Regions from separate parts of the Homo sapiens genome. Here region 2 is linked to region 1. The links are contacts of gene promoters, found by promoter capture Hi-C in human tissues and cell types (Jung and others, 2019). All regions are on one chromosome and are shown on one strand. The core of a region is centred on a gene start or on the middle of the fragment in contact, and the rest is flanking DNA. Distances in the headings are between cores, read along the strand shown.

Region 1 (4,325 bases), core at 1,763-4,262:
AGGAGCTCAAACCAGAAACCTGTAAGATTCCTTCCCACTTCATTCTTCCCCTACACCCAGTGAATTCAAGACCTACTGAATCTACTTCCAACATATCTTTCATTATATTATCCTAATCTCCACTACCATAAACCTTGTATAGTCTAAGTCAACTACAAAGGCCACCTAATTGGTCTTTTGGTCTCACATTTGCCCTACGTTTCCCTCTGCCTAGCATATCCTTTCCCCGAACTCTTCAGATTTTGGCTTACATATCATTTCCTCAGGAATCATATCGAATCCAATCCAGATGATGCTTCCAACTCCCTTTAGTTTCTCAAAAACCTCTTGTTCTTTTCTTTCACTGTATTTATAACCATTGTTTGTTTGTTTTTATTTTTTGAGAGAGGGTCGGGTCTTGCTCTGTCACCCTGGCTGGAGTGCAGTGGTGCCATCACAGCTTACTGCAGCCTCAGCTTCCCAGGCTCAGGCGATCCTCCCACTTCAAACTCCTGCACCATAGTCCCAGCTACTTGGGACTACAGGCGTGCGCCACCAGGCTCAGCTAATTTTGGGGTTTGTTTTTTGTTTCTGAAACAGGGCCTTGCTCTGTTGCCCAGGCTGGAGTGCAGTGGCACCATCTCGGCTCACTGCAACCTTCACCTCCCGGGTACAAGCAATTCTCCTGCCTCAGCCTCACAAGTAGCTGGGACTACAGGCGTGTACCACCACGCCTGGTTAATTTTTTGTATTTTCAGTAGAGACAGGGTTTCGCCATGTTGCCCAGGCTGGCCTCGAACTCCTGGGCTCAAATGATCCAACTGGCTCAGGCTCCCAAAGTGTTGGATTACAGGCGTGAGCCACTGCGCCTGGCCTGTTTTTGTGAACATTTTTAACGGACAAAAAAATTAAGTGACATTTAATATGTCTCATCTATGACATTATAAGCTTCAGGAGGTCAGGGTCCTTATGTTTTGTTCTATTATCTCCAGTACCTAGTGCCTGAAACTTAACGGGACTCAGTATCTATTTGCTGACTATTTGTCAGCAACAAATAGTTTATTTATAAAGGTGCACTCAGTTTTTAGAAGAGACTTCTTCCCTTCCAGTGGCAAAACCAATTCATCATACAAGATACCTCATAGACCTGGCCACTAAAAAGCAACCTTTCCACTTTCCCCCAATGGTTGGGACAAAGAATCTCCCCATTACAATAATCAACAGGAGAAAAAAGAGGGCCACAAAGAAAACTGAGGCTTCTCGCAAAGAATCCGACTCCAAGGGAAGTAAGGGTTACAGGAAAGAAACTAGCATTATTCATTATTATTATTGAATAATGACTTTTTTTTTGTCCAACGACCTTCGTGAACTGTGCAAAAATATGGAACGCTTCACGAATTTGCGAGTCATTCTTGCACAGGGGCCATGGTAATCTTCTCCCTATCATTCCAATTTTAGTATATGTGCTGCCGAAGCGAGCACTCAATAATAATACTGAATTATTCTATATTATTTATTTTTAAAAGTCTATTATTTTTAAAAGCCACATGCATTTTAAATTTTGTTTATTCAGTACAGTAGCTATTAACTTGATGAGCAAATGTTAATGGTTAATGCTAATGCAATGCTAGATAGTATCTTGTTACCAAATAAGTATTTAAATGTAACTCAAATATTTAAATGTAATTTATTTAAATGAACGTAAGTTAATTCTCACTATTCTAGATTGGGGGAAGGAGGTAAATTCAAAGGTGCTTTCTAGAACTCAGCTCTCTCAGTTTGAATCCTCCCCCTTCAGTGCCAACTATTCTCACAAAACATCTATGAAAATAACAATTATATGGCCACTCCCTTAAAAGTAGAACTACTTTTGCTATCCCAAATCCGTAGCTTTAATTTTATAATTTCCAGGTTAAGTACACCACTTCCCAAAATCTAAATTAATTTTATAATTTCCAAGTTAAGTACACCACTTCCCCAAATCTAAATGTACACAGTAGCACAGTTCTAAGTAAATCTTGGAACTGTGGCCTGAAAGGGTAGTGGCTCTGAAAAGACTAGCCGGATTGCCAACTCACCAGTACATAAGGCAACGCCCCTTTGCAATTTTCTATTTGAAAAGGACAGAATAAGATGATAGACAATTCAGAAGCGTTTAATAGTAATGCTATTTATCTTATTTTTTTAATTCTCAACTTCTGCCCACTGAAATACAGTATCGTCTGCAAATCTCATCTCCAATCTCAAATATTTATCAAACCTGTGATTTCAGAAAATTCCATTGATATTTATTGTAGGTCATGCAAAAGGCAACACAGAACCCTAGGTTTGAGCCAACAAAACTAAAGATTGTCAAGTCTCTTCCAAGATTCCAGGACAAAGATAAGTTTAAAAGTCCCACAAGCTCTTGACCAACCATGGAAGCGGAGTTGGCCAAATTAGACCTTCCCAGGACCTTTATCAAACAACCAACCATGGAAACGGAGTTTGCCAAATTAGGCTTTCCCAGGACATTTATCAAACAACGTATGGCAAGCAACAAAAAGAGCAACAATTTGGCCTTGAAAAATATATTTGACTCGGATCCCTGGGATGGGAGGGCTAGAAGGAGAAGAAAGGCAATGGGAGTGAGAACACGAATTCTCTTAAGACAGGGCGTGAAGGCGAATAAACTTGGACGTTAACACTTCGGACCCCAGAACTCCCCTCCACCCTCAGAAAAGATCCAAAGCAGAGCTATGCTTCCCCCGGGGCTGAGAGTCAGCGGAACAGACGCGCCTCCCGGGGCGGGTCAGTTCTCCGCTCCTCAGCCTCTCGGGCCCGACAGCCCGAGTTACCTCCGGTGATGAGGAAGTAAGACACCACCACCAGAGCATACACAGTCATGGCCGACGGCATGTGCAACCAGGGCGGCTTCTTCAGCTTCAGGTTGGGACATTCGAGCACTAAGAACGGGACACGGTACAAAGTCTCCATGTTGGTGGCAGCAAGGGCCGTTCTCGGCCTCAAGCCCCACGCGCCTCCCGGAAACAGGCCCGCCCTCCCTAACAAGTGCGCGTGCGCGAGGAAAGGACCCGCAGATCCGTAAAGCTCGGAGGTGGTTACTATACTCATAGAAGAAAATAAGAAACTAAATAAAACAAATAAATGATATGAATAAAGTGTTGTAAATTATTTAATCTAATTAAACTTACATTGTGATAATGTACTCTACATTTTTCTAATGGATATATAGGTGATTTGTGTACCTTCAAGGACCTGCGGGACTTCTAACGTGGCCAAGCCGGAGAAGCGGAGGCCAAGGAATCTAGGTGAGCCCCGCCCACTCGCTGACGCAGGGGATTTGAAAGCTGATTGGACAGGGGGCGCTCCCGGTTCCCAGAGCGGGAGATGAATGGGAACTTTTGGATATAAATGCCTTTTATATTAGAGGTTTTTTCAAGGGTTAGGAAAAGCCGGAGGCTGCTGAGCTTTTACTTCCCGATGTAGTCGTGGTAATAATAAGAATTAATAATAGTTGCTAAAGTAATATGTTACCAATTTTTTTTAAACATCCAGCCTGGATCACAAATGTCAACAGGACATCTCTACAGGGATGCCTTAATGCTGATAGCTTGGCGTGACCATAATACTATTTTGAATAACTCATCCTCTCAACTTTGCTCTTCCCTTGGTCATCTGTATGTCGCTAAAAGGTAAAATCCCTCTGGCCAAAAATCTTAAAGTCGTCTGGATTTCTCTCCTTACTAACCTTCTGCATCCAAAATATTAGTAGGTCTCTTTGGCTGTACTACCAAAATATCTCCAATTCATCTGCCCCTCACCATTCCACCACTGACACCCTAGTGTGAACCACCGCCATCTCTGGTCTGGGCAACATTTACAATCCAAATAGATGAAAATATATGATGGAGAATTAGTCATTAGGGATGGACTAGAAGGTCTAAAAGATTTTTTGTTTTCTGTTTTGCTTTTCTTTTTTATATAATCTTTTAAGACTCTACAAATGTTAACTTCCTTTTGGAGCAAGAGTTAAGAGTCACTGATTACATAAGTCCAGAGCATATTGACACATTATAGAGCCAATGTTTTTATATTTTTTTATTTGCTTGTTACTAAGCCCGTGGTTATTTTTACAGGATGCCATGTATTGGTTCTGCACTTCTAATTAGCTAACAACTCAATTGTTAAGAAATTGCTTGAAGACGGTAATGAAAATACTATCAAAACATTGTAGTATCCAATTCTAAGTACAGTTGAGGCTTGCTGCCCTTACTGTTCATTAGTGAGAGTCTCTCCCAGAGTCATATTGCCTATGTCTTAACGGAGCCACACGAATCTTAGGT
Region 2 (3,829 bases), core at 1,199-3,698, 660 kb before region 1:
AGAGAACCTGGATAGGGAGGACATGATGGACCAGGAGTAGGACTGGAGGGGTCTGATCCCCCTGCTGGAGGCACCTCTGGGGTTTACTTCCCTGGAATTTACTTCCCTGGGGTTTACTTCCCTGGGACTGTCCTTTGCAGCCTCTCCTGAGATGACTGCTAGGCAGGCTGGATCTATCCTACAATATCAGCAAAGGTCCAGATTATCCTGCAAGGCAAAGAAAACCTGCATGTATGAGACCTCAGACCATTTGCCTCCATGTTTACAGAAACGGTCCAGCTGCAGGTTAGCATTAAAGTTGATACTTCCCTCCAGAGGCCAGGCTTCTCCATCCTGCTGCTTATAACCTGGCCAAGCCCTTGTGCAAAGGAATATACAGCATTTTCTCTTCAGAATCTGCAGGTCAAAGGATTCCCAGTGATTCAGGATGCACTCTAGAGGAGTGCAGGCTGAAAATAGTTTGTTACCCATCTGAAAAGAGAGAGGGGAGAAAAGGTATCCTTTAGACTCTTCTCTATCCTCTTGAATTTGAGTCACCCCCTGAATCTCAGCACCTAGTACTGGTGCCATGGATGGGCTGGTGGTGTCTACATCATGGATATGAACATCACCTCCACCCATGAAGTGGGAAGGCCTAATTGGCAGGGATAGTCATTCTTACCTGTGCTGTGCCCTAGCCTTTTGCTGTTGACTGCCTCTTGGTCCCTCAAATCTAGTTTTCTTTATAGGGCTCCAAATCGAAGCTTGGAAAATACAATGGAGTAATACTAAGGTGAAGGTGTGGAACCAGATCCTCCTCAAACAAAGGAAAGAAAGGGAATCCTGGGAATTGGGGACCTGGCCTAATAAGATGCCTCCCAAAAGGAAAACATTAATCCCTTGCATGGAAAAGCTCCTTGTATTCGCAGGATTATGTTGACTCTGACAGGGTGGAAAAAAGCAATTTAAATGCAGAGGAGGGAAGGTGGCTGGGGGAAATAGCCTCTTGTTCTGTGGTAATGAGTTTCTTCAACAGGGGAAAGAAAACTCTCTTAATTGTTACATCCCTCTATTTCTAAGAATAGACAGAAGCAACATTGTTCTGGATTACACTCCTGATGACTAAGCCAAGTCCTCATTCTATCCAGTAATAGTATCTCTTTTCGTTGCAAAAACACCGGTAACATTGTCTATAAATAGGGGATAGCAGTCAGGACACTCTTGAAAGAAAGAAAATTAGATAGGAAGGACTGAAAGCCTTGGCCTGGCACCTGAATGGGCTGTGGGGGATTGGAGCTGGTCCAGGAGTCTTCAGGTAACACCAAAGTGTGCCTTGGCCAGATACCTTCAGTTGTTCAGGACTTTATTCCAACCTACGTAATGGCTAGACTTCCAGGAAAGGAAACTGGATTGGAACAAGGCCAACATTCCCAACACCCAAGGATGAAGGGGGACTGACAATGTCCTCCCGAGCAAGTCTGTCCTCTGAGTCTTGTAGATTGGCAGTTGGTCTATTCACCCTTAACTGTCTAACAGAGACTTGGTGTTTTATCTGTTTTCGAAAAAAAAGTGAGGATGAGAGTCCTCAGAAATGAAAGTAAAGGGTCACAGGTCTGCTCTTACTCACCCTTCTGAAGACCTGGACGAGCCTCCAGAAATGTTGCAGCTTCTTTACTCCCATAGTTCGGTGAGTGAGAGGGAGTGGCTCCCAGTGGCTTCTTCACTCCTGTAGTTTGGCGAGAGGGAGAGAGTGGCACCAATCAACTTCTTTACTCCCGTAGTTCAGCGAGTGGGAGGGAGCGTTACTGCTCTTTCACTCCTGCAGTTTGGTGAGTTCTGAGTTCTTGTCTAATGACCAAGAGGAGTGAGGTACATGGACATTGGAGAGTGAGTAAGGCAGAGTTGAATTTTATTGAGTGACAGAAAGAAAGCCCTCAGCAAGAGGGGACCCAAAAGTAGACTGCCATCAGTGAGGCTGAGTCCAGGGTTTTTATGGGCTTAGAATAGGGGAACGTGTGCTGATTGGTTTATGGGTGGGCTTGGAAAAGACACCATTCAATTGGTTAAAAGGCATCATTCAGAAAGAACCTATTGAGAGACAGTGGATAAGGTGGGGATGGAAGTTCTCACTCAGATCTGTGGCTTCTATCCTGAATTAGTAGCTCAGTTTTCAGGCTTTAGACTGTCTTTGGCTTGAAGGTTGAGTTTCACCAAGGACCCATCCTGTCTGCCTAGAAATTTGTCTATCTCCTGTGGCTATCACAGCCAAGGTTGTGGAGAAAAAGGAACATTAATACACTGTTGTTGGGAGTGTAAATTAGTTCAACCATTGTGGGAGACAGTGTGGTGATTCCTCAAACACCTAAAGACAGAAATACCATTTGACCGAGTAATCCCATTACTGGGTATATAACTACAGAAATATATATTGTTCTATTATAAAAAAATTCATGTGTATGTTAATTGCAGCACTATTCACAATAGCAAAGACATGGAATCAACTTAAATGCCCATCAATGATAGACTGGATAAAGAAAACATGATACAAATACACCATGGAATACTATTCAGCCACAAAAAAGAATGAGATCATGTCCTTTGCAGGGACATGGATGGAGTTGGATGCCTAACCTTAGTAAACTAATATGGGAACAAAAAATCAAATGCTGCCTGTTCTCACTCATAACTGGGAGCTAAATAATGAGAGTATAGGACATATAGCGTGGAACAACACACATTGAGGCCTACTAGAGGGTGGAGGGTGGGATGGAGGAGAGGATTTGGAAAAATACTAATGGACATTAGGCTTAATACCTGGGTGATGAGATAATCTTTACAATAAACTCCTGTGACATAGTTTACCTATGTAACAAACCTGCACATGTACCCCTGAACTTAAAATAAAAGTTAAAAATGTTTATTGGCTGTTTTTTATTTTTCACTTATAAAAGTGCTTATTTAAGCTTTTGCTAATTTTTTTTATTAGGTTGTCTGATGCTTTTTCGCATTGATTTGCAAGAATTCTTATACATTCTAGATAATAGTCTTTTCTCATTTCTATATTTTGCAAATATCTTTTCTCATTCTTTGTCTTGTATTTCAATCATTTTAAGTTTTTTTAATAAACAGAAGATCTTGATTTAATATATTCCAATTTATCAATCATTTCCTCTGTGGCTAGCTCTTTACGTATATTATTTAGAAAACCCTGCCTCAATCCAAGGTCATGATTACATTCTCCTTTATTATCTTTTAAATGCTTTATGCAAGGGATCTTCAAAAAGTTCACGGAATAATGGAATTAAAAGGTAAAAATAAAAAATATAAACTTTATTTCTCAAATTAAGCTCCATCAAGTTCTAGACACTTTTGTCATCAATCATCCAGACCTTTCTTTAGTGCATTCCTAAAGAACTGAGGGTCTTGGGAATTTAACCATGTCAATGCAGTCTTTTTTAACATTATTACCTAAAGAAAAATGAGTGTCCCTTAAAGATTTTTTAAAGATTAGGAAACAAAGAGAAGTCAGAAGGAGACAAATCAGGACTGTAGAAACTCTTCCCAATTTGCCCTTGTTAAATGAGAAAAGAATAAACGGGAGCATTGCCATGGTGCAGAACTCTCTGGTGAAGCTTTCCTGGGCATCTTTCTGCTAAAGCTTTGGCTAAGTTTCTCAAAACATTCTCATAATAAGCAGATATTATAATTCTTTGGCCCTTCAGAAAGTCAACAAGCAAAATGCCTTGAGCATCCCTAAAAATTGTTGCCATGACCTTTGCTTTTGACTGGGCTGCTTTTGCTTTGACTGGACCACGTCCACCTCTTGGTAGCCATTGCTTTGATTGTGCTT

What was found. Contacts are between HindIII fragments. The study calls those that stand out against the background at their distance.
Region 2: a fragment that was not itself captured here is called in contact with the fragment with the promoter of OSTC in region 1 in 1 of the 25 tissues and cell types used here (dorsolateral prefrontal cortex).

What each region holds. Positions count from the first base shown.
Region 1 is chr4:108,649,286-108,653,610 of GRCh38, reverse strand. It overlaps OSTC (oligosaccharyltransferase complex non-catalytic subunit), which reads right to left and starts at 3,012. Exons shown (of 4, transcript NM_021227.4): 1 at 2,817-3,012. The coding sequence starts at 2,955. It also overlaps the pseudogene RNU6-431P. RefSeq lists enhancers at 102-616, 2,059-2,108, 2,723-3,072. The HindIII fragment of the contact is 8,012 bases long and covers 1-4,325 here.
Region 2 is chr4:109,311,219-109,315,047 of GRCh38, reverse strand. COL25A1-DT (COL25A1 divergent transcript) reads right to left here. Exons shown (of 3, transcript NR_160939.1): 2 at 1,607-1,705; 3 at 1-471. Among named protein-coding and RNA genes, the nearest start is that of COL25A1-DT, 10 kb to the right of the region's middle. The HindIII fragment of the contact is 4,157 bases long and covers 370-3,829 here.